Regions from separate parts of the Homo sapiens genome. Here regions 1, 2, 3, 4 and 5 are each linked to region 6. Evidence: promoter capture Hi-C in 16 types of primary human blood cells and fetal thymus (Javierre and others, 2016). All regions are on one chromosome and are shown on one strand. The core of a region is centred on a gene start or on the middle of the fragment in contact, and the rest is flanking DNA. Distances in the headings are between cores, read along the strand shown. Region 1 holds the start of MARCHF4 (membrane associated ring-CH-type finger 4). Region 2 overlaps SMARCAL1-AS1 (SMARCAL1 antisense RNA 1). Region 3 overlaps RPL37A-DT (RPL37A divergent transcript). Region 4 has its middle 11 kb from the start of RPL37A. Region 5 overlaps SMARCAL1 (SNF2 related chromatin remodeling annealing helicase 1). Region 6 holds the start of XRCC5 (X-ray repair cross complementing 5).

What was found. Contacts are between HindIII fragments. The CHiCAGO score rates a contact against its expected background, and 5 or more counts as called.
Region 1: a contact is called between a fragment that was not itself captured here and the fragment with the promoter of XRCC5 in region 6, in 2 of 17 cell types (naive CD8 T cells and naive CD4 T cells). The highest score is 7.0, in naive CD8 T cells.
Region 2: a fragment that was not itself captured here is called in contact with the fragment with the promoter of XRCC5 in region 6 in 10 of 17 cell types (neutrophils, activated CD4 T cells, naive CD4 T cells and 7 more); the score reaches 16.2 in neutrophils.
Region 3: a fragment that was not itself captured here is called in contact with the fragment with the promoter of XRCC5 in region 6 in 6 of 17 cell types (neutrophils, total B cells, total CD4 T cells and 3 more); the score reaches 10.1 in neutrophils.
Region 4: a fragment that was not itself captured here is called in contact with the fragment with the promoter of XRCC5 in region 6 in 3 of 17 cell types (naive CD8 T cells, total B cells and total CD4 T cells); the score reaches 6.7 in naive CD8 T cells.
Region 5: a fragment that was not itself captured here is called in contact with the fragment with the promoter of XRCC5 in region 6 in 6 of 17 cell types (naive CD8 T cells, total CD4 T cells, endothelial precursors and 3 more); the score reaches 6.5 in naive CD8 T cells.

What each region holds. Positions count from the first base shown.
Region 1 is chr2:216,371,854-216,375,704 of GRCh38, forward strand. MARCHF4 (membrane associated ring-CH-type finger 4) reads right to left here and starts at 630. Exons shown (of 4, transcript NM_020814.3): 1 at 1-630. The HindIII fragment of the contact is 2,896 bases long and covers 954-3,849 here.
Region 2 is chr2:216,398,337-216,402,240 of GRCh38, forward strand. All of the region lies in intron 1 of SMARCAL1-AS1 (SMARCAL1 antisense RNA 1), which reads right to left. LOC107985984 (a long non-coding RNA gene) reads left to right here. Exons shown (of 3, transcript XR_001739880.2): 3 at 1,072-1,412. Among named protein-coding and RNA genes, the nearest start is that of SMARCAL1, 12 kb to the right of the region's middle. The HindIII fragment of the contact is 687 bases long and covers 1,056-1,742 here.
Region 3 is chr2:216,489,437-216,493,354 of GRCh38, forward strand. All of the region lies in intron 1 of RPL37A-DT (RPL37A divergent transcript), which reads right to left. Among named protein-coding and RNA genes, the nearest start is that of RPL37A-DT, 7.4 kb to the right of the region's middle. RefSeq lists an enhancer at 3,131-3,190. The HindIII fragment of the contact is 878 bases long and covers 1,458-2,335 here.
Region 4 is chr2:216,508,336-216,512,008 of GRCh38, forward strand. No RefSeq gene overlaps it. Among named protein-coding and RNA genes, the nearest start is that of RPL37A, 11 kb to the left of the region's middle. The HindIII fragment of the contact is 464 bases long and covers 1,775-2,238 here.
Region 5 is chr2:216,437,957-216,442,100 of GRCh38, forward strand. SMARCAL1 (SNF2 related chromatin remodeling annealing helicase 1) reads left to right here. Exons shown (of 18, transcript NM_014140.4): 10 at 464-529. Among named protein-coding and RNA genes, the nearest start is that of SMARCAL1-AS1, 28 kb to the left of the region's middle. The HindIII fragment of the contact is 164 bases long and covers 1,651-1,814 here.
Region 6 is chr2:216,106,550-216,110,611 of GRCh38, forward strand. XRCC5 (X-ray repair cross complementing 5) reads left to right here and starts at 2,799. Exons shown (of 21, transcript NM_021141.4): 1 at 2,799-2,908. The coding sequence starts at 2,888. RefSeq lists an enhancer at 2,523-3,144. The HindIII fragment of the contact is 16,954 bases long and covers 1-4,062 here.

The sequences.
Region 1 (3,851 bases), core at 1,152-3,651, 260 kb after region 6:
GGCGGCCTCGGCCCGCTCTCTGCCCCCCCACCCCGCCCCTTCCTCCTCTCCACCGCCTCTGGCTGGCTAGGCTCGCTGTTGCTACCTCTCCTCGCAGATGCAACGAGGTAAGGCTTGTTTGCGGTGCCAGCTGAAGGTGGGGAGGGGGGAGCGAAGCAGTGTGGCCGAGGTGGGAGGCAGCCGGCACTTGGCTCCAGCTTGGTCCTCGCGACTCCCCAAAACCGTATATAAATATATCTCTTATAAAAGCCGAGAGGAAGCAAATCAGATTCCAGGCTGCTGCCAGGTGTTGTCTCGTCTTCCGCCGTTGCTCAGCACCCGCCGCTGCCCCCACTGGCTCGATTCCCAAAGGGGTGGTGCTGGAAGGGAGGTGGCGGGGCGGCGAGCTGACCGTCCGAGAACTGGAAACAAGGTTCTTGCAGCGAGGGAGGCTCTCGGCTATCTCCGCCGCCGGCGCCGCGGCCGCCGCTGCTGCATTCAGCACCCCGGGCGAGTGGACAGCTCCCACCCAGACCCCGCGCGTCACGCTCGTGGGGGCCTGACGCAGACGCCGCGGAGGGATGGAGGAGGGAAAGGGGATGAGAGGAAAAGAAGCTGGAGGGAGAGGGAGCAAGAGGAGGAGAGAACTGTGCGAGGGAAGGGGATGGGGAGGGACCAAGGGAAAGGGAGGTAACCAGGAGAGGGAGGGATTTAGGAAGGGAAGGAGGAGGGAGCGAAGTGAAGAGTAAAAGAAAGAAGGAGAAAGGCCACGGGGAGGGAGGGGAGCGATTCAGGCACTAACTCTTGCATTTCACCTCAGCAGGAACGTGTCGGTGTGGAAGGTCTGGTTGTAGACTCTCTGCCCACTGTCCACTATCACAGCTCCTCTCATTGCACATACAAGACACAGACACCTGTCAACCAGAGACCGTTTCTCTGTTCACATAAACATTTAAAGTAGATCTCAGTCTGCAAGCTTTCGAGGAGATAAAGTTTTGTGACTTCCACAATGAAGCTGGGACTTGATGGAGATTAAATTCCTCATGACTAAGGAAATGCTTGAGACATGAGACATGAGAAGGAAATGTTTCATTGAGGCTTGAGACATGAGAAGGAAATGCTTCAAATTTTCAAACAGGGAGGAGGTTGCTAGTACCATTTTTTTGTCAGCTTCTTCGCCTAGAATTTAAGCTCCAATTGACAGAGATAATTTTTTTAATTCATTTGATCCCGTGTGCCTAAGTCAGAGATGGCATCTAGTAAATGTTCAATGCATATTTGTTGAATGGCTTGTGGCCACCATCACCACAGTCATCATTACTATAAGTCACAGTGCTCTTTCAATTGTGAGTCATAAGAATCCAGAGCAATATTTCAGCTTCGTCTTCACCAACATCCCCAGCCTCCTCCCTATTCAAGCCTTTCACTGAGCCGCTGACAAGAGGTAATTTGAAATGGATTTTAATTTCCTCTCCTATTTCTGCTACTGACTCATGTCACCCTACCCTATTTTTCTCAAGGAGTTTCTTGAGCAGCAAAGTGCCCCTAAATGTGAAGAGCAAGAAAAAGAAGGAAACTTAAAGTGGTCTATATAAAACCTCAGTGTTTGCAGCTGTAGACTTTGGTCACTGAAAACTTAGGATTGCTTTTTTTGCCTTTCCTTATAAACCTCTCTCCCCCACCCCGCTCTCTCTCTCTCTCTCTCTCTCTCACACACACACACACACACACACACACACCCCTCTAGGGCCATAGAGAAGATATGCCAGTGATTCATCCAAACAGCCATGGTAATGCCTTTACAAATATTGGAGCCATAGACAGAGTAGCATGCAAAATTTCTGCAGCAAAATATCATTGGAACGAAGTTCAGTCCAATGAGTCATAAGAAAACTACCCCTTTGCTGCCATCTCTATGAAATGATTCATTCCTACAAGCTCTAAGGAGAAAGGACCTACATCTCAGTCTTGGTTAACCCAGCATGGCTACTTGTCTGAATCATGCCCCAGGACTCACCATGGATGCTGAGACCCAGCCCAAGGTGCTCATTTAAAGATGATACTAATATTTTTAATAACTACAAAATAATATTTATTGATTAATATCAGCACAAATACTGTGCAGCAACAAAAAACCTCTTTATTTCAAAAATTCTATTTGTTCTTCAAGAAAATATTTTGTGTTCCACATCACTCTGTATCTGTTTCTGGTATTGCAGAAATCATAGTCTATATAATAATTATCTCACCATACATTCATCTCCCTTTGTCTGACTCAGAGCTTCTTTAAGGCTGGGATCAGTATCTATATTTGTATCACCAGCACATAATGCAGCACCTGAAGTTAAGTAGGTGTTCAAGAAAATGGACTCTGAATAAATAAGTGGCTTTTTTATTTCAGTGAAGCTACCATATTTCTCCCCTTCAGCCTGGACACATACATGTGAGTGCTCCCACATATGACTGAATATCTGCTTTACCTAAAATTGAGTTTTAGGGTTTTGTGCTCATTAAATTCTAGCTCCAAGTGTGTTGTGCAAGTAAATTAGGGCAGGAGATAGAAATGCCATATGAGACCTATATCCAGAGTCATAGAAATGGATGATGTCCGGCCAGGCATGGTGGCTCATGCCTGTAATCCCAACACTTTGGGAGGCTGAGGCGGGTGGATCATCTGAGGTTGGGAGTTGAAGACCACCCTGACTAACATGGAGAAACCCCGTCTCTACTAAAAATACAAAATTAGCCAGGTGTGGTGGCACATGCCTGTAATCCCAGCTACTCGGGAGGCTGAGGTAGAAGAATCGCTTGAACCTGGGAGGTGGAGGTTGCCGTGAGCCAACATTGCACCATTGCACTCCAGCCTGGGCAACAAGAGGGAAACTCTGTCAAAAAAAAAAAAAAAAAAAAGAAAGAGGAAAAGAAAGAGAAAGAAAGAAAGAAAGAAAGAAAGAAAGAAAGAAAGAAAGAAAGAAAGGGATGATGTCCATAACAAGACTGCCTTTCCCAACCCTTCCACTGAAAGTGAAAAGATTTCTAGAAACAGAGAACTGCTAAGGACAGGAAGCAACAACAGGACTGCCTTTAGAAAGATTGAGAAGTGGCCGGGCGTGGTGGCTAACACCTGTAATCCCAGCACTTTGGGAGGCCTAGGCAGGTGGATTGCCAGAGGTCAGGAGATCGAGACTGGCCTGGCCAACATGGTGAAACCCCGTCTCTACTAAAAATATTAAAAATTAGCCAGGCATGGTGGTGTGCACCTGTAATCCCAGCTACTCAGGAGGCTGAGGCAGGGGAATTGCTTGAACCAGGGAGGTGCAGGTTGCAATGAGCTGAGATTGCACCACTGTACTCCAGCCTGGGTGACAGAGTGAGACTCCGTCTCAAAAAAAAAAAAAAAAAAAAAAAAGATTGAGAAGCCTAAGAGGCCTGTTTTGAATATAATGTAAATCTTGTAAAACACTTCACTGAGTTAGATTCTTCTTACTAACTGCCTAATCATGAGCCCAAAAGTAAAATCCCCATTATTGTCTAATGAGTTCCAGAGTAAAAACAACCATAAAGACCATATTAAATCAATGGGTTCCTATTTAGACATTCAAAAAATATTTACTGAACACCCATCATCGGTAAGGCATTGAATTGTGTTGAAAGATGTGGGGAGCACAAACTGGTTGGAATTGCATCCTCAAGGGTCTAGTACTATAAATATGTATGTAGTCATAATATAAAGCATAAAATAGTAAGTGTTACAAAAGCATACAAAGTTTGGGGAGTGTTCAAAATAGGGAGATAATGCTTACAGCTTGGCAGCAATTAGGAGAGGTGGGAAGAGGGGGGAGGTGGAGATAGTTGCCACAGCTCTGGGAAAG
Region 2 (3,904 bases), core at 149-2,648, 290 kb after region 6:
TCTGTTACAGCAATACAAATGGACTAAGACAATTATCATATCTAACAAAACAAAAATTCTTTCAAATCATCATGTATCCATTCAAATTCAAAATTTCTTGATTGTGTCGAAGTAAGGTTTTTTTAAACATTAATTTAGTTTGATTCACATTTCAATTTTTAGTCTAGCACAGGATCACCCACGAGGGAGCATTTTGAAAAAGTGTGGAGTGTTTTTGGTTGCCCCAATGATGGGTAAGGGGCTTACTTCTGGCAAGTAGAGGCTGGGACCCCAGGCAGCTCAATCTTTTACTATCTGTGAGACAATCTCACCATCTCATATATACTTACCCTATGCTCCACACAATTTTCAAATGTTCTACTAGATATTTACAGAGTTGTTTATAACTTGCTTATAACTATCTGAGCTTTAAAAAGTAACAATTTTATATGTAAACAGAGAGACTTTTTAAAAATGATTTTTAATATGCACTAACTGTATGCTAAGAATGAAACTACTCTGTAAATTAAGGGAAGATTAGAGTTTGTGTTGTTAATTTCTTTACCAGATTTGCTCACTCTTTTGGAAAATCACATCATTGACTGCCACACCACTCATGGTAATTGAGTCTCCAATATGCCTGTATTAGTTTTCATTCATAGCTGTCATAACTGTGGTGTTTTGCTTTTAGGAAATAGTGCCTGTCTTATCATGTATCCCGCATAGTCCTCTCTGAGTTGTTGGCTATTGAAATACACCCCTATGTGTGATTCCTTAGCTTCTTCCTACTCTAAGTGTTGCTCAGTCCTTCTCATCATGCCTGAACCAGATACTGTGGTCTCCAGCTGTCTTTCTCTTAGAATAATGTCCCAGCATTTAGGTTTGGTTGGGGACGGGAGCAAGGGGTGGGCATGAATTTCCTGAGCTTCCCTGGCATTTGCAGGGAGACAGCAAGGGAATACCTCTGTGGGTCACAACAGAGGGAGAGCCAGCTGAGCTTGCAGGATGGAAACATTTAGTAGGCTCCCTCCAGCCATCACTGTCTCCACTACTGCTGACGCCACCATCCATAACAAAGCTTCCAATTTGCAGGCTTCAGATTCAGCTTCTGTTTCCTGAGTGCCTCCACTATACCAGCCATTGGGCCAGGCATCCAGAAGCCCTAAGGTAGACCTCATCATCCCTGTTCTACAGGAGAGGAAAACCAAGACTTGGCTACTACAGTATACAAAGGGTGTGGAAAAGTCCTCCTAGAACCCTTACCCTGCTTCCAGGAGGAGCTGGACAGTTCTTTCCAAGTCCAGGCAGAAAGAAGTCTCCTCTTTTTCCATTCTCTTTGTTACTTTATATGTCTGTGCAGGCTTGGTTGAGGAAGAAGGGGGGCCAGAAGGAAGTCTGGCCAGATGGCAGGGTAATAAATGACTCTGACTTAATAATTTGTTGCTCTCCTCTTAATTAAAAGGCTTTTCCCTAAATGATTTGCTGATCACACAAACAGCACACACTAGTTGGGCGAGGACTGGGGGCCCAGGGAAATCTAGACTGAGAGGAGAAGGCATTGGAATAAAGAGGTGGCAGATGGCAGAAGAAGCCCACCCTCCATGTCCCAGGGTGGGCCCAGCTTCAGGAGCTCCCTCCTCCTCAGGTCTGAAACAATTCAATCCAATGATAGAGCTTTGGGGGACTGGTTCTTCTTTCAGGCCTCAGCTTTTCTGGAAGCTGACTTTGCCAGGGGGCTTTTTAATTTCTGGGATGAAGATATAAGCTTTATTTTATCTAACACGTGGCTTTGCATTCAGTTTCCTCAAAGCCCCATGTGGCCTTGGGGGGTGATCAGGTAGCCTTTGGACCATTTTGCATATAAACTGTCACTTATACACTTGATCAACTGGGGTGGTGGTCATAGAGGGGGACAGGGCACCCATTGTTCCAAGCAGCGTCCTGTCAATATCTGCAGTTGCAAGCAAATGACACTAGATAGTGTCAATGGATAAGCTCTCTATTGCATCTTTACAACTGCAATTTATAAGTTCCTGGGATTAAAATCTGCTTTCCAGCAATTATCACACAGAGGTATATTTTCAAAGCCTCACATGTAATTAGAACATGTTATTGATAAAGTGCTAGCTAAAGATTTAGACTTTGAGTCTGTTCATGAGGGATCAGTTTTGTTAATATTGATAATGTTTTCCCCCTTTAATGCAGTTAGGAGTTAGATTGAGATGCCAAATTCAATCAAAATGCACATCTTATCCCCCGCCAAGGGACTTCTGGCTCTCTTTTACTTGTTCAGACTTGTAGAAAGGACCCCAGAGATCGTGTCATATAGGAAAACATCCTGCCAATCTATAACTCTATGTTAAAGAATAAACTCTTTTACACATTATTTTGGTTAACTAGATTTTTCTCAGCATTTGTGCTTCCATCAGATTGGATCATCCTTGCCATAACCACCATCTTCCTATTATTGCTGGATTCCAAATTTCTACTTAGCCAGTTCAGACACCACTTCATCCGCTTAACCTTCCTGATTCTGTATTCCCTGTGTCTCCATCATCAGAGCTCCTCACTAAACCCCCAAGGCCATTTATCTGTGATTGATTGATTGATTTCTTTTTAGAGACGGAGTCTCACTATGTTTCCCAGGCTAGAGCACAGTGTCTATTCACAGGCATAATCATAGCCCACTAAGGCCTTGAATTCCTGGGCTCAAGCAACCCTCTTGACTCAGCCTCCTAAGCAGCTGGGACTACAGGCACACACCACTGCACTGATCTTATCCACAATTCTTTTTTTATTATATTTTCCACACAGGTATTCTCTCTTCTCCTAGTCTTTAAGTTCCTTGAGACAAACTTTCTTTTTAGTGTTTGTATTTCATCTGTTGGCAACAGTATCTTGCACACAAATCATAAAGACCAAGTTGAAGAGGCTTCTTACTTTGTTTCATCAGTCTGCTAATATGTTATCAATATCACACTAGTTTTATTATTGTAGCTTTGTAGTATATTTTAAACATTAATAGAATAATAACTTACATTTATTGATTACTTAATGTATTCCAGGCAATGAGCTAAGTGCTTTACATGATCTCAGGTAATCCTAACAGGAAGTCTATGGGATAGGTACAATTATTTCCATATTACAGATGGAAAAAACAAAATTTAAAGAGATGAATTTACTCCAAGACAAATGCAAAAAGTGCAGAACAGTGTATATAGCACACTGCCATCTGTATGAAAGGGAAGATAAATAAATGTTTTTACTTAAATGTGCATAGAATATATCCAGAAAAATATGCAAGAAATTGATTATGTAATTGAAATATAATAATTATATCCATGATTATTATAAGTCAATTAAAAATAAACAATTTTTTAAAAAAAGAAATGGATGACATTGGCTGCCTGCTGGGAAGGGAATGGGATGCGGGAGTTAAGAATGGAAGAAGAGCAGAATCAAGTTTTGGGTGTGCTGAAGCTCATACAATTTGGGGGGAGCACTTTTACCAAAAAAATACAAAATTAGATACAGAGCCTTAGAAGGGATATATGCCAATGAGGATCTCTGATGCCATAGGTTACTTTTTAAATCTGCCCTCAGCAGAAAGGAGACATTCCACTATATATACTTTTGTATATATTAAATATATGGAGCTTTAATCATGTAAATGCATTGTCTATTCAAAAAGATACAGTTTTTAAAAAATTTATATTTTTTGTTTTGCCAGGCACAGTGGCTCATGCCTATAATCCCAGCACTTTAGGAGGCTGAGGCCGGCAGATAACTTGAAGTCAGCAGTTCAAGACCAGCTTGGCCAACATGGTGAAAGCTTGTCTCTACTAAAAACACAAAAAATAGCTGGGCATGGTGGCACATGCCTTAAGCCCAGCTACTCAGGAAGCTGAGGCAGGAGAATCGCTTG
Region 3 (3,918 bases), core at 647-3,146, 380 kb after region 6:
TGTACTCTGAAATTTGTTAAGAGTCACCTAACCAGTTCTGTATAATTCAGCAAAAGACACTTGGACTTATTTATATAGAGAGTGAATACCACTGGGTTTAAAGTGGTATTAATATTTCCACACTAACTCCTTTTCCTCCTTCATTTCACAGCACAGTCCAGACCCCCAGAACTGTGTTTTCTGGAAGCGTCAACTGAAATGAAGAAAATCTAGGCCCATCTCCTCCCACTCTTGTCCCTGCCATCAATTGTACCCTTACAGGATTTTACTAGAAGTCCCCTCTGGCCCATGGAGCTGGTCTCTGCCTTCCCTCACCAGGGTCACTAAGTGGTATCTTGTTTCCTGAGTGATCCTGGTTGATTTCTGCCTCTAGGGCTGGCATCAAGGAAACCTCTAAGAGGCAGCAAAGAATCCTGTTAGTCTTGATCCACTTGTGCTTGAATTAATCATGTCTTTTTCCTTCTTGGCTTCAGAGGAGCCTTTTTCTAGATCAGTGGGAGAGCTGAGAAATTGAGCAGGAGGTGTCATCCCCACACCACTGGCTCTGAGGTGTTGTCTTGTCTGTTCGTTCTCGTCTGTTAGAACCTCAACGCTTTTTGAAGTTCTATCCTCTTTTTTGCAAAGGGGAGAGAATGAAGTCCAACCTTATATTTACTCCATCCTCCCACTTCTCACCAAGTTCAGAATTATCAACATAAAAAGTGGCTCGGAAGTTTAAAGAGGGTTAATTGGAGAAGTCTCTTCTACCTGTGTTTTGTTTTGGTTTTGTGTTTTCCTGTGCAGTCTCAGTGAAGGAAATGAATTCCTGACCATAGCAGAAAGCATTAAGAAGCCTGTGAGTCACAGTCTTTTGGGCATTATGACAATCAACAGTTATCTGATTTTGCAAGATCCTCTGCACACATTTCTCTCCCACCCCCTATTCAACAGATTTTGAGGCTCTTTTTCTCTTTTTTAACTCCTTTTTTTGGGGGCAAAATATAATATACAGAACAGTTCATAAAACAATTTAGTTTAACAAAATATTTTAAAATACACATCCATGTAACCATGACCCCAAGGTTATGAAAATAGTATGTTGTGAGGCCGGGTGTGGTGGCTCACGCCTGTAATCCCAGCACTTTGGGAGGCCGAGGCAAGTGGATCACCTGAGGTCGGGAGTTCGAGACCAACCTGACCAACACGGTGAAACCCCATCTCCACTAAAAAAAAAAAAAAATACAAAAATTAGCTGGGTGTGGTGGTGCATGCCTATAGTCCCAGCTACTTGGGAGGCTGAGGCAGAAGAATCACTTGAACCCGGGAGGCAGAGGTTGCAGTGAGCCGAGATCGTGCCACTGCACTCTAGCCTGGGCGACAGGGCGAGACTGCCTGGGCAACAGAGCAAGACTCCGTCTCAAAAAAAAAAAAAAGAAAGAAAGAAAGAAAAAAAGAAAAAGAAAATAGTATGTTGCAGAAGCTTTTGTGTTTTGCCGTTAATGTTTAGATCTACAATCCACCTGCAGTTTATTTTTGTATATGGGGTGAGGTAAGGCCAAGGTTAATTTTTTCCATATGAATATGCAGTTAGCTCGGCACCACTTATGGAAAAGACGGTCCTTCCACCTACTGCTCTGCAGTGCCTTCTTTCCAATATTATGAACTGGATGTAAAAATACATCTAAGGCTGGGCGCAGTGGCTCACGCCTGTAATCCCAGCACTTTGGGAGGCCAAGGCGGCAGATGAACTGAGGTCAGGAGTTTGAGACCAGCCTGGCCAACATGGTGAAAACCCATCTCTACTAAACATGCAAAAAAATTAGCTGGGCATGGTGACGGGCGCCTGTAATCCCAGCTACTCAGGAGGCTGAGGCAGGAGAATTGCTTGAACCCGGGAGGCGGAGGTTGCAGTGAGCCGAGATCGTGACACTGTACTCCAACCTGGGCAACAGACAGAGACTCTGTCTAAAAAAAAAAATTCATCTAGAAAAGTATAAGCTCAAAAATAAGAGTCCTGCATTCTCCTCCCTCCCTCCCTCAGCCCTACCTCCTAGAAGTAATAACTAAATAATTTGAGATAAAGCCATTTGTAATTTATCTCTATGCATACAAATATATGTAAAATACACATAGAATCTGTTTTTACAAAAACTGTATCAAATTCTTCATACTGAAAATGACTCACTTCACATGATGTACTTGGCCATTGTTTCATATTGATCTACCCATTAAATTATGATTTATTTATTTATTTATTTATTTATTGAGACAGAGTCTGTCTCTGTCGCCCAGGCTTGAGTGCAATGGTGCGATCTCAGCTCATTGCAACCTCCGCCTCCTGCTACTCGTTAAATTAAGCTTAACCCAGTGCTGCCTTGTTACATATTTTAAAGTCCGCCTAAAGGTTTCTCTGTGCAGAGTGAACTATAACCTAACTAGATTGGTAAACAGACTGGGACCCACTCTTGTAACAAGTAGCCAAGTCTCAGGCAATTACCGCAGCCATATGTCAGCCAATCACAGGTGGCCAACCGTTCACACTGTGTTCAAATAAGGCAAATATGCAACCAATCCAGCTCTTTCTGTCCTCACTTCCCTTTTCTGTATGTTACTTTCTTTGTTCTGTCCATAAATGTGAACCAACCATGTGGCAACCCTGGAGCTGCTCCGGACCTCTTCTGGTTGTGGGGGCTGTCCAATTCACAAATCATTCTTTGCTTAATTAAACTCTGTTAAATTTAATTTGTTGAAAGTTTTCCTTTTAACATACCTTATCCCACTTAAGAGTTGCCAAGTAACTACTCCAGTCTTTATGTGTGCACTTCCTGTGTAAATGCTCTGTGACGGGTCCATTAATAACTAGAACGAGTTTAAATGGAATTTGAGGGGAGAAGGAGGAAAGGAAAGAGGGGTTGCCTGAGTCAATTTCCCACACTCTTATTCTTTCGGGGCATCCAGGACTGCCTTGGAGGGCCTCACCTTTCCTGCTGGGTCAGCTCTTGCCTGTGGCTCTGGCCTCACGGGACTCTCAACAATGCTGTGCAGGCCCCACTCTTGTCTGTGGCCCCCAGGGGCTTTGTGGAGAGCAGGCTCTCTTGAGGCATGAAGTGAAGGAACCACGCCCCAATAAACCCTTTCTGTCTCCAGCACAAGATGAATTTGGAATGATGCTTGCACCTCAGATTTCTTTCAAGAATAAAATGTTCCATATGCCCCAAGAGAACTGGTTAACAGCTACAAGAACTCCTCTCTGGAGGTGACTTTTAACTTATTTATTTTTCTAAAGGCAAAGAGTGAATGTTGAGGGCTCCTTAAGAGCAGAGGTGAGCCAGCAGTGATTTTTACTGAGTCTTTTATGGGGACACATTATAGTTAACATTCTCCACACCGGATGGTACTCTAATAGGGATGGAAATTTATGAGCCCACAGAAAAGACAAATTGAGACTTTAGGAGAGGGCCGATTCTCTGAAGTCACTCAGAGCTGATTTCATGAGTGCTATTTGTACATCCTCAAGCTTGCTATTTAAAGATAATTGTTCAGTTTTGACAAAATTGCTCTGAACATGAACAATTTCCTCCTATTATGGAGTGTCTCATTTTCAGCCGCTTACTGCATTCCTACTCATGCATTCCCTCTTCTCTTGCTCTCTCTCTCAGACCCCCCTGAAGGCCAGAGACGTAGGAGGCTCTGCAGCGGAGGGCGTGGGGGAGGCAGCACATTTGCTAAATGATGATCTGAATTAGGCTCTAGTGCCAGCCCAGGATGGCTCACCTCAGCTCTGCCTGGACTGCCCCAGCATGAAGCTGACTCACCCACTCCCCAGCTCAATTGAGCACCATCCTGTGTGGCCAAGAGGCACAGTCTGAAAAGGGAGGATCATGGTGAGCATTTGTTTAAGACTCCTTCCACTAGTCTCCTTTGTTTGTATCAACATGG
Region 4 (3,673 bases), core at 757-3,256, 400 kb after region 6:
TGCATCTGTGGTCAGCTGTTAGGTCAGTGGGGAACTGATTGGTCTAGCATGGCCTCACTCATATTTGGCTGATGGGTGGCATTTGGAGCAGTAAGTGTGCCTGGGTCATGTGTCTGTCAGCAGCTATCCTGGGTTGGCTCACAGGGCAGTGGCAGGGTAATTGAAGCTCACACATCATTACTTGTGCAGTATAGTACAAAGAAGTCAGTCTCAAGGCGAATCCAGATTTAAGGAGTAAGAAGATATACTCTATTTCTTGATGCAACAAGCTACAAATTACAAAGCATGTAGATACAGAATTATGGCCATTTTTGCAATCTACTCCCCATAATAGAGTCTGGGATAAAATGGGTCCTCTGTTATTTTATGATTTAATAAATGACAGTACTAGAAAGGAGATTTTAAATGTCCTGAAAAGGTCTGACCATTTTGTGGTCCCCATATCCTATTACAATTTACTTTTTTGGTGATTAATTTAGATGGGCTCTCACTCACCCAGGTTGGAGTGCAGCGGCATGATCTGGGCTCACAGCAACCTCTGCCTCCTAGGCTCGAGCGATCCTCCCACCTCAGCCTCCTGAGTAACTGAGACTATAGGCAGGTGCCACCATGCCCAGCTAATTTTTTTGTATTTTTTGTAGGGATGGGGTCTTGCCAGGTTGCCCAGGCTGATCTTGAACTCCTGGGCTCAAGTGATACACCTACCTTGGCCTCCTAAAGTACTGAGATTACAGGCATGAGCCACTGCCCCCAGCCTACTTATTTTTAAGTATTTGTAAAACTTTTATTATAATGTCTTAGGCATTCAGAGGAAGCACAATTGCTGGTACTACTGAAAGGGGTATGTTGAGCCATCTGTGTCATATTCCAACTTTTGTCTTGGCTCATTTCAATTTTATGGTCACAAGAATGTAAACTACTGTCTCTCCTCATTTTGCCTGTTACCTGGTAAATGTTTAGTGACTTGTTCATGTTCTCCGTTTAGTAACATCATACATCCTATTTCTGTTAGCTAGTCTTGATACTTTTCTGATGATCAGATTACCTACTCCTTTTGATACATGAAGTTTTGCGTATCCTTGGGCCAATCAACTCTCCATATTTTGCAGAATTGTGAGGATAGTCATTACCAGTCTCTGATTGAGAAGCAGCTTACAAAGGTATCGCATCTTGGTATGGTAGCTAATTGGGAATTTGGGTTGATTAGTGAAGGGATGAATGCTTTTTTGGTTCCACATGTGATACTTAGGGGCATCTTTGGAATTGCATGTAAGGAAAGAGGGGCATGTAGAATGCATTAGAGATTCCATCATAATCATGTCTGGGCGTGGTGGCTCACACCTGTAATCCCAGCACTTTGGGAGGCCAAGGCGGGTGGATCACCTGAGGTCAGGAGTTTGTGACCAGCCTGACCAACATGGTGAAATCCTGTCTCTACTAAAAAATTACAATATTTACCCGGGCGTGGTGGCACGTGCCTGTAATCCCAGCTGCTCAGGAGGCTGAGGCAGGAGGTGGAGGTTTCAGTGAGCTGAGATCGCTTCATTGCACTGCAGCCTGGGCGACGGAGTGAGACTCTGTCTTAAAAAAAAATAAAAACTACTGTCATCTACAGCCTTTGGTACTCTTGTTTCTCATAACTGAACACTCTCAATATGCTCAGTTGATTGGACCCGGGATGGACAACTGATAGAGTAAATGGAACCAATCAATTATCTTTAGAGAATTTGGATCAAATGACACAGCAGCTGAGTTAAACTAAGGCAGAGCATTAAGCTTTGGGAAAAGCTCATGACTCCTGCTGCCAGGATCACAACACTGCCCCAATTCCCAGCCAGAGTGTTTGGTTGCATGCAATAAAGACTGACTGCAGGTAACTAAAGCAGAAAAAGTATTTATTGGAGGGTAATAGAGTGCTTCACAGGATTGAAAAAAACCTAAAGAATCAGGTTTATAAGGGGAATAAAATAGGACGTTCTCACAGATATCAAAGGGAGGAGTGAAAGAAGAATCCCCAGTAGGGAGCTGAGCTTCTGGTCTGTTTTATGTCTTGACACTATTCAGAAGTCAAAAACCTGAACAGAAGAGTCCAGTGGCCTAGTTGGGGGCCATACTTCTGGCCCTTGGCACCTTAGTTGGCGGTCCCACCAAGACTACAGATAACATAGGAGAGATAAATCTCTAATAGGAAATTAGAGATTATCCATAATTTTAGGAGGGCAAATGTTCTTCACATCAAGCTTGAATTACCATTTAGGTTGTATTTGTACTACTTACTCTTTTATAAACCATCTAATTATAAGGTAATGCCCCTTGGATTTTGTCCCTCAACTGATGGAAGAACACTACAACAGAGCCACAAGTATACAAGTTGGGGGGCAAAGTCCCCCCAACTCTTCCCCATGGGGACCTGAGACCACTCACTGTGGTCAGAGTAGGAGCTTTTGGAGGTCAGATGGCAGATGATGTCTTGGATTGAATATCTCACAGTGGATAATGTGGAATGGTGGCTCCATCCTTTGTTTTTTACCCTATTTCCAGAATGGTGAAACTCCTTTATTTGACCCATGGCCCATGGAGGGAGGGCTGTTAGGGTTGGAAAATCAAGTGCAAACCTCTAGGGTTGCCTCTCCTACACACAGTAAAACAAAAGGAATCCCTGGGTGAATCACAGATAAATGGCTTATCCAAACATCTGAAATTTTCATGAATAATGATCTTATGATCATAACTAACCTCAGCTATGATTCTGGGTATAAATCTATATTGGAGGAAATCAACATATCTTCTGGCCATGACATACTGCTCCTATTAACCTAACAAATGTATTTTTTCCTTTCATCCCTATCTGCAAAGTAGTCAAAACTAGTTTATCTTCACTTGCAGGGACAGCAGTATACTTTCACTGTTTTACTTCAGGGCTATCAACTCATATACTCATATACAACTCATATGTTATTGATGTTAACGTAATGGTGTTACTGTTATTTTTAAATGAATTGGTAAACAAATGTTTTTTTTTAAAATTCCCAGTATTAATTCCTTTTTGTGTTTTTGAGACAGAGTTTCACTCTGTGCCCAGGCTGGAGTGCAATGGTGCGATCTCGGCTCTGCAACCTCTGCCTCCTGGGTTCAAGCAATTCTATTGCCTCGGCTTCCTGAGTAGCTGGGATTACAGGCATGCACCACCATGCCCGACTAATTTTTTTGTATTTTTAGTAGAGACAGGGTTTCACCATGTGGACCAGGCTGGTCTCAAACTCCTGACCTCAGGTGATCTGCCTGCCTCAGCCTCCCAAAGTGCTGGGATTACAGGCATGAGCCACTGTGCCCGGCATCATATACTATTATAATATAATCCAGAAAGATCTTGATCATTTTGGTGTCTTAGGGAAGATACTGATCCATTACACTGATGACGTAACAAGTGGACCTAAAGAGATCAGGAAGTGTTGAGAATGATATACCCAGTACGATATGAATATGGTGTTTAGGTTATCTTGGGGATTTCCTACCTGAAGTGATAGACAAGTTGCTGCACTGTAGACTATTCCCAACTAAGAGACATAATCTTTACTGGGTCCGTTTGGATTGAGGGGGATGGTTGCAAAGTAAGTCACATTGAGTGTGCTTCTCTGTCCCATTTACTGAGTAACCTGTAAGACTTGAGTGG
Region 5 (4,144 bases), core at 483-2,982, 330 kb after region 6:
ACAGCCTGATCGGTTGTCAGTGTGTCTGGCATCCTTCCTGCACCCTGAGCCCCTGAGGGCAGGGGCTGGACACCCCAGAGCTTTGCACCAGTGCAGGGCCCATTATGGGGCACTTGGTCTAGTGCTCCACAGGTGGGAGGTGCCTCTTACAAAGCAGCAAACCACCTTCTAGTGGTTTCTTTGAGCAGCCTCTGAGGTGGGCGGAGCAGGGATTCATGAATCCCACTTTATAGATGGAAAATTGTCCCCAGAGAGCTGAAGCAACTTGCTCAGAATGCAGTAGAGAAGCTGCCACCAGACCCCTGGGTCCTGACCTAGGCCCAGTGAGCCATCTCCTTGAATGAGAAAGTGCTAAGGGAGCATCCACCTTGCACTTGCCATGCCAGGGTCAAGCCTAAAGTGACCCATATTTCTGTCCACTCAGGATTGGATCTTGTACACTTATGTGGCTACTTCTTTTCAGGATGAATCTCACTTCCTCAAAAACAGTAGGACTGCCCGCTGTCGAGCAGCTATGCCGGTCCTAAAGGTGAGTACTTCTGAGAACTGAGCCCACTGAGCATTGGCATCCCATAATATTTTGCTCAGGCTTGCATGTCGTCCTAGTCCAGCAGGGGTTGCAAGTATAGACCTGTGGGCCATGGTCATGACTTGGCATTGACTTAGGGCATCTGTCTCTCTCCTTAGGGCTGTGGTACCAATTTCATCTTTCTTCCTAACATCCTGCTAAGGAACTAGTAGGCAGTACTAGTAGTCAGTAGTGCTGCCTTTGTCTCTCGAAGGTCAAGACTGTTGAGGCTGGGTGGGCATTGGACTCCAGAATCCTCCTCTGGCTTCCTACTTAGATAAGAGAGAGCCTCTAGCAGCTTGTCCACTAATTAGCTTAGAAAAAACTGCCTGTCTTCTAAGTCACTTGTAGTGGCAAAGCTGCCTAGATGCTGGAAATCAGGGAAGACGAGTTGTATTAATGAAAGTAATGGCAAAAAAACGCAATTACTTTTGCATCAACCTAATACAAACAGAACTGAGCAAGGGCTGGCGGGGTCAGCGAGATACACTGGCAAAGCTAAGATGGGCCTTAAAAGCTGATACTGTTTTCTGTGGCTACCCTGAGCCTCTTTGGTTGACAGAAGGGGCAGCCATCCCCCTTCCTCCCTGTGGTGGCCTAAACTCATTTCTGAGTGCTTTGGCGGGTGTGAGTTCTGGCTTCACAGCAAGCAGGCGTGGGTATGTGATGCAGATTCTAGTCTTTAAGCATGTTCTGATGTGCAATATAGGCTCTGTATTTCATCTGTCTCTCTCTTCTGTGTTTGGTTTCTTAGTCCCCCATCCCAACAGAGGGTAGTCCTCCAAATTTCCTTCCATTATGGGGGGGGGGGATGATTTTTTTCCTATTATTGTAAGAGGGAAGGAGAAGTACAATTAGAAAAGTAGCCTTTTCTCTTGTAACAAGTTAGAAGTTTCTCACAGATTACTTTGGAGGTATCCACTTTGGTTTGTGTAGACTGAGCAAACCAAAGTGTGTGTTTTTCTTGTGCTCAAAGCAACCTTTGTGTTGTACCAGCATTTTAAAACTATGGCTTTTATTGATTAAAAGAAGCTTTAACTTTTACCTAAACTAGGGAAAACAAATACGCTGAATGTTAATGAAGCTTAGCATTTGAACATTAATCTTAACATTTCCTCACAAAACACACGTAAGTGTCCACTCATTTCAAGTTTTCATGTGTTTAGGAATAACGGAATATGATACATCTTCCAAGGCAGGGTCATGTCATGTGCCAAACCAAAGAATAAAAGTCTTTTACTGCAAAAGCTTGGTTTTGCTGGGGTGGTGGCTCACGCCTGTAATCCCAGCACTTTGGGAGGCCGAGGCATGTGGGTCACTTGAGACCAGGAGTTTGAGACCAGTCTGAGCAACATGACGAAATCCCGTCTGTACTAAAAATACAAAAATGAGCCAGGCATGGTGGTGCACACCAAGCTGAGGCAGGAGAATCGCTTGAACCTGGGAGGCAGAGATTGCAGTGAGCCGAGATTGTGCCACTGCACTCCAGCCTGGGTGACAGAGTGAGACTCTGTCTCAAAAAAAGAAAAAAAAAAAAAAAGCTTGATTCTCTGCCAGTATTACCTATAAATATTTATATGTCAATAGCCATTGATGGACACATTTAAATAAAATGTTTTTCCTAGGTTGATGACCCTTCTTTTGGGAGGCCTTAATATGCTTTCCATAGGAAAACAATAGGGTTAGGTATTTTGGTTTCAGTATTTCAGCCATAACTAAATTAAATCTTTACTCCTGATTGTTTAGACAAAAGAAAATGCACAATAGATAGATTCTATCATTAAAGATACAATGTGAAAGCTTCTAGCAACCACTTGTTAATGTAGTCATTGCCTGGCTGGGCAAGCTGAGCCAGATAGTGGTTTCTGAAATGTGTGCCTCTCAGCCAGACCTTTGGAAGCAGCATATACCTCTTTAATATCTTGAGTGTGTTTCAAAGTGACATGTTTAAAAGAAATCTCTAAACTGCTAACTAATATGTACTACTCTGCATTTGCTGTAGAACTTGGATGAATTAATATTTTAAAATAAGCCTCATGAACATGGCCTGTGTTTATGAAGGTGTCTTGGGGCCACGCTCTTCCGCAACGTTGACTTCATATAATGCTGGACTGTGGCAGGATTGGGCTGAAGGAGTGGGATGGAGCATTCTGTGCTATTCTGTTAACCGAACCTTTCATCTCTGTCTTATTGTATTTTCGTCTAGATTGGAGTCTCTCAACCATGGTACTGTTGACATTTTGGGCTGGATGACTCTGTTGTTGGGGGGCTGTTGTGTGCATTTTAGGATGTTTAGCAGCATCCGTGGCCTCTACCCACTAGATGCCAGCAGTTCCTCCCCAGTCATGACAACCAAAATTGTCTCCAGATGCCACCGAATGTCCTCTGAGGGAGGACAAATCACTCTCTACTCACCTTGCCCTTCTCCAACCCCATGGAGAACCACCAATCTAAATAAGGAAATGAATCTAAATGTTTTTGGAATAATAAGATAGTTGGGAAAAAGTAAAGTATGTCTTTGAAAAGCCATATAAGGACCTAATTTAATACCACTTGATTGTTCCTCTAATATGAACATCTCTTAGAACTATATTCTGATAATTAATATTACAAGCATATTTTCAGCAAATAGGCATAATGAGGTATTTAGATTAAATCATACAGTTCGTTGGATAGCAGGGCCAGATCGTGTCCAGAAAAATGTGGATTTTGTAAATAGCAATAGCAGTCAGCAGAGAGAAGGTGTGTTAGATTGTAAGAAATTGGTGTCACTGTCCCCTGGGAAACGTGACATTTTTCTTCCCCCACAGCACTATTGGCTGGGGCTACTAATCCTAAATGAGGTAAATCTATTTTTATATATAAATATATGAAAGTAGACCAGATAGAAGCTAAAAAGAACAAAGTTAAAATTACCTTTAATCCCTCCAACAGAAAAAGCCACTGTTAACAGCTTATTTTTCCAGCATGTCAATTATTGAGCAAGATCATCATTTTTCAATAACTATGGAGCATTTACATAGTGGAGACACATCCCATAATTTAATCCTCAGTATCAGACATGCGGTTGTTTTCCATTTTTGCTATTATAAATAATTCTGCAAGTGAACATCATCTATATGTACCTTGCATATTTATCCTATTAGGACAAATTCCTACAATCAGAATTGCCAGGTCAGTTTTCATTTGACCTTTTTAGGGGAGGCCTCTGAAGTCCAGTCTGGCCAGGCATAACAATCTTCACTCCCATTCAGTCTTCAATCAGAGGCTTTTTTTTCCCACATGACTCCGCCCTCAGGATTACTGGCACTCTTTTAAACAGTGAGGTGTGTGTTTGGGGTTTTTTGGTTTAGTTTAGTTGTCTTTTGTCTACACTGGCTTTTATTGTTAAACTAGTGTAATAACAAAATTAAAAATTTTTCAAAGGGAAAGGCCCCTAGAGTCCTACCATTCTTTCCTAAGAAGCAGCTGTTTCTCTTTTTCTGTAAGTAGAGAGTACTTTTTATATCTCTGTTGATTGGCTGGATGAGATAGTGGCTAAAAGGTATAAGGTTTTTTTCTTTTTCCTTTGTTATT
Region 6 (4,062 bases), core at 1,549-4,048:
AAGTTATCAGGAAAATGGGACTAGCACAACCAAAGATGTTACAGACTGCACACAATTTTGACACGGATAGCAACGTGACCAAGGAGTGGTTTTCTTCAGGAAACAATTCTACTAAAAAAACCCATGAAAATAAAAGTAATTTAAAATTTTCAAGACACATTAAATGCATGACTGTGGCTCTATATTGCCATTTAGTATGCGCTGTACTGTAGGAAATAAAATACCCTCTCCCTAGGGAATGTTAAACTGACTTCGAAGACAGTGAAAGCCTCCCATTATTCACTATTTCAGTGTTTCCTGGTTGTACCAAACAACAAACAAGTGAATTATTTCACCTTTTAAAAGCTACACTTTAAAAATGGGATAAAGTGGGATTCCCTCCTTCCTAAAAATGTTTCAGCCAGGCACAGGCTCACGCCTGTAATCCCAGTACTTTGGGAGGTCAAGGTGGGCGGATTACCTGAGGTCGGGAGTTCGAGACCAGCCTGACCAAGATGGAGAAACCCCATCTCTACTAAAAATACAAAATTAGCTGGGTGTGGTGGCACATGCCTGTAATCCCAGCTACTTGGGAGGCTGAAGCAGGAGAATCGCTTGAACCCGGCAGGCGGAGGTTGCCGTAAGCAGAATTCGCGCCACTACACTCCAGCCTGGGCAACAAGAGGGAAACTCTGTCTCAAAAAAAAAAAAAAAAAAAAAAGTTTCTACAGCTACTAAAAAACTTGCATTTAAAAATAGTTGATAAAAATATTCCTTATCAAAATAGTTGATAAAAATATTCCTCTGAGGCCAAGTGCAGTTGCTCACACCTGTCATCCCAGCACTTTGGGAGGCTGAAGCGGGAGGATCGCTTGATCCCAGGAGTTCAAGACCAGGCTGGGCAACATAGGAAGACCCCGCCTCCACACACACACAGAAACCCCACAAAAATTAGCTGGGCTTGGTGGCACACACCTGTGGTCCCAGCTACCTGGGAGGCTGAGGTAAGTGAATCGCTTGAGCCCAGGGGTTCCAGGGTGCAGAGAGCTATGATTGTGCTACTGGACTCCAGCCTCGGCCGAGCGACACCCTGTCTGTTTCTTTCCTTTTCTCTCTCTCTCTAGCTCTGGATCGTACAAGAAGGGAGACAAGGACCACTGACAAGATATGGTATGTGATACTAATCAGATTTGGCTTCTTTCTGTCCTGCTTCACCAGAGGCTGGACTCTCCTTGTTTCAGTTTCTCCGCTTTCCACAGATAAATCTTTTGTTTCCCGGATAGCCACTTGGCCTGTTTGCCCTTTGCTCCCATTTTTCCTTGTTTGCTTCTTTGTCTGAAAATTTATGCTGTCCTGCTGCCTCCGCTGGGCTTCGTTTCCACCTTTGCTGGAGGAGATTTAGCTGACAACCTCACAGATCTTCCCCGCCCCTTCTGCCGAGCTGATCTTTCTCTTGGAAATCTTACCCGCAGGGAAGGGCGAGTGTCCGTGCCTGCCTGCCTGCCTGCTGCAGCCCGCGCAAAGCTGAGCGGCCAGGGCGCTGCTGTTCCTTTAAAGTATTATTAAAAATAATATTTCAGCTTTTAAGTAACTCCTTGAGTTTGAATCAAAAGCTGGAAGAACCTCCTGGGCTCTATGAGCACCTCTGAATATGTCTGACTCTACATTCTAGAGGCTTCAATGTATTTATAATTTTGGCTCATAGATTCTCCACATCTTTTCAGCTTCAATTCTTGCTTTTCCCAGAAACAATTTTCAAGCAGGAGAGAATATTGATTGGACTTGATTTTCTCAGTTTGGGCAGAGGTTTGCAGACACTTTGCAGGTTGCCAGACCCTTCGTCCAGCCACCTGTCAGCTGGGGGTCATATGGTATAGAAAGCAGTCATTTCTATGCAAGGTACTGCTTGGGCCTGCCTCCCTCAAAGGGGTAGGGGATGCGGGCTGGACAAAGGGCTCGTGATCAAGTAAAGCACTGTGATGACAGCTGCTATTTCTATATCTCCCTAGACTTGTCTTCTAAATTAAACCTTGACTCCTCCCTTCCAAGCTGGAGCCACTGCTAACTACTGGGAGAGCCTTAGCAGATAAAGTCTCATGCCTCCAGGCGTTTGTGCATCCCATTTTCTCTGCAGAGTAGAATCTCCCTTCTACTTTTGTGCTCCTGGGGACGTCCTACTCTTCTTCCCCAGTTGGCTCTAAGGTTATCACATCGGTGAAGTGTTTCATTATCACTTTTTAGAAGAAACTGAGTCTTTTAGAGAAGTTAAGTGACTTTCTGCATTCATACTCATACTCAAGAAAATCTAACTCCACAATAACCAAAAATAAAAAGTAGAAAAAAACCCACAAGTGATGAGAAAAAAAAAAATCAAAAGTTATAAAAAATAAATGAAAAAATGAAATTAAAGGAAAAAAGATTTTTTAAAAAAGTAAAAAAAAGAAAAGAAATCTAACTCCAGAGCTCTGACACAAAATGCCTTAGGTGTTATTCTCAATGAGAGAAAAGGGACGTGAATCTTTAAGTGATTAAGTGAATCTTTAAGTAAATCTGTCGTACTAGCGTTTCAGGCGGCTCAAACACCACACGCTCCCGACTACGGCGGAATGGAGAGAATGTGCGCATGCTCGGCGGGAATCTGCGCATGCTCGGCGGGAATCTGCGCATGCTCGGAGAGAATCTGCGCATGCTCGGCCGGAATCTGCGCGAGCTCGGCGGGAATCTGCGCAAGCTCGGCGGGAATCTGCGCATGCTCAGAGTTCCGGGGCACGGTTTCCCCGCCCCTTTCAGGCCTAGCAGGAAACGAAGCGGCTCTTTCCGCTATCTGCCGCTTGTCCACCGGAAGCGAGTTGCGACACGGCAGGTTCCCGCCCGGAAGAAGCGACCAAAGCGCCTGAGGACCGGCAACATGGTGCGGTCGGGGAATAAGGTATAAAGAAAGCCATGGACTTGGGCTTTACCCGGACTGGGGATCCGGAGAGGGTGGTTCGGAAGCAGGAATCGTGGGATCGCGGTCAAGACAAAGAATGGGGCAAGAGAAGATCATGGTGGTGGGCTCAGTCAGGAGGGCCGGGACCGAGGGATGCGCTATGAGAAAAGCTGGAGATTTGGGGCTCCAAGACCTGAATTTGAGCCTCGCTGACTCCACCTCTTCCATTACCCACCCATCCCATCCCTCTTCTCCCTCTCTACCTGCTCTTTGTCTCACCTGCCTCCCCACCCGCCTCCCCTCTCTCTCTCTTTATCCCATTCCACTCCCTAGCCCCACTTCCTCTATTACTTCCGAGCCTGGGTTCTTAAGATCTCTATGAGAATGAAAATTAGCTGTGATAAAGCAACTATCCCACAGGGCTTGTTGTAAAACTTAAGAGAGGGACTATCTGTGACTAAAATAACTTAAACTGTAAAGCGTCGTATTATTAGCTTTATAATAACGTAGTATCCCGCATTTATTGAAAGCCCACTCTGTGAGGGACGGATCTAAACCTTTTATTCTTATCTCATTTAATCTTCACAACCCCTTGAAGTGAAAACTATTTATCCCCATTTTGCAAGTGGGAAAACCGAGGAATAAAGAACTGTGGGCTTTTCCTGGTGAAATCCGGATTTGAATCCAAGCTGTCTGGTTTCAGGGCCCTGGAGAACCCCTGTGTTGCTAGAAATCTATGACCATTGGTGTCCCAGATCAGTAACAGAAATTACAATGAATTTTAAAGTGATTTTTTTTTTTCAACATAAAAGAGTGGTAGTTGTCTCTGAAGGGTCACTAGAGGGAGATGTGGTTCCAGGGATTAATGAATTTATTCAATACAGATAAACAAGATACGAGTTTGAGCAACTGATCCCTAGTTCCCTCAACTCCTCATTGAGAAATGTTGATTAAAACGATCATGAACTTTTAATAATGCCACTCACCTCCTTTTTTCGTCCTCTTTCAGCTGCTGAAAACTTTGTAGCTCTAGTGGAGGAGCTGTTTGTTGCAGATGAACTGGAAGTAAAATTCTAACAGCCTGTATTGCTTCGGTATAGAAATGAAGAGTTGCTATGCTACCCGGTTTCTCTTTCTCAGTTTTCTTACTGCTG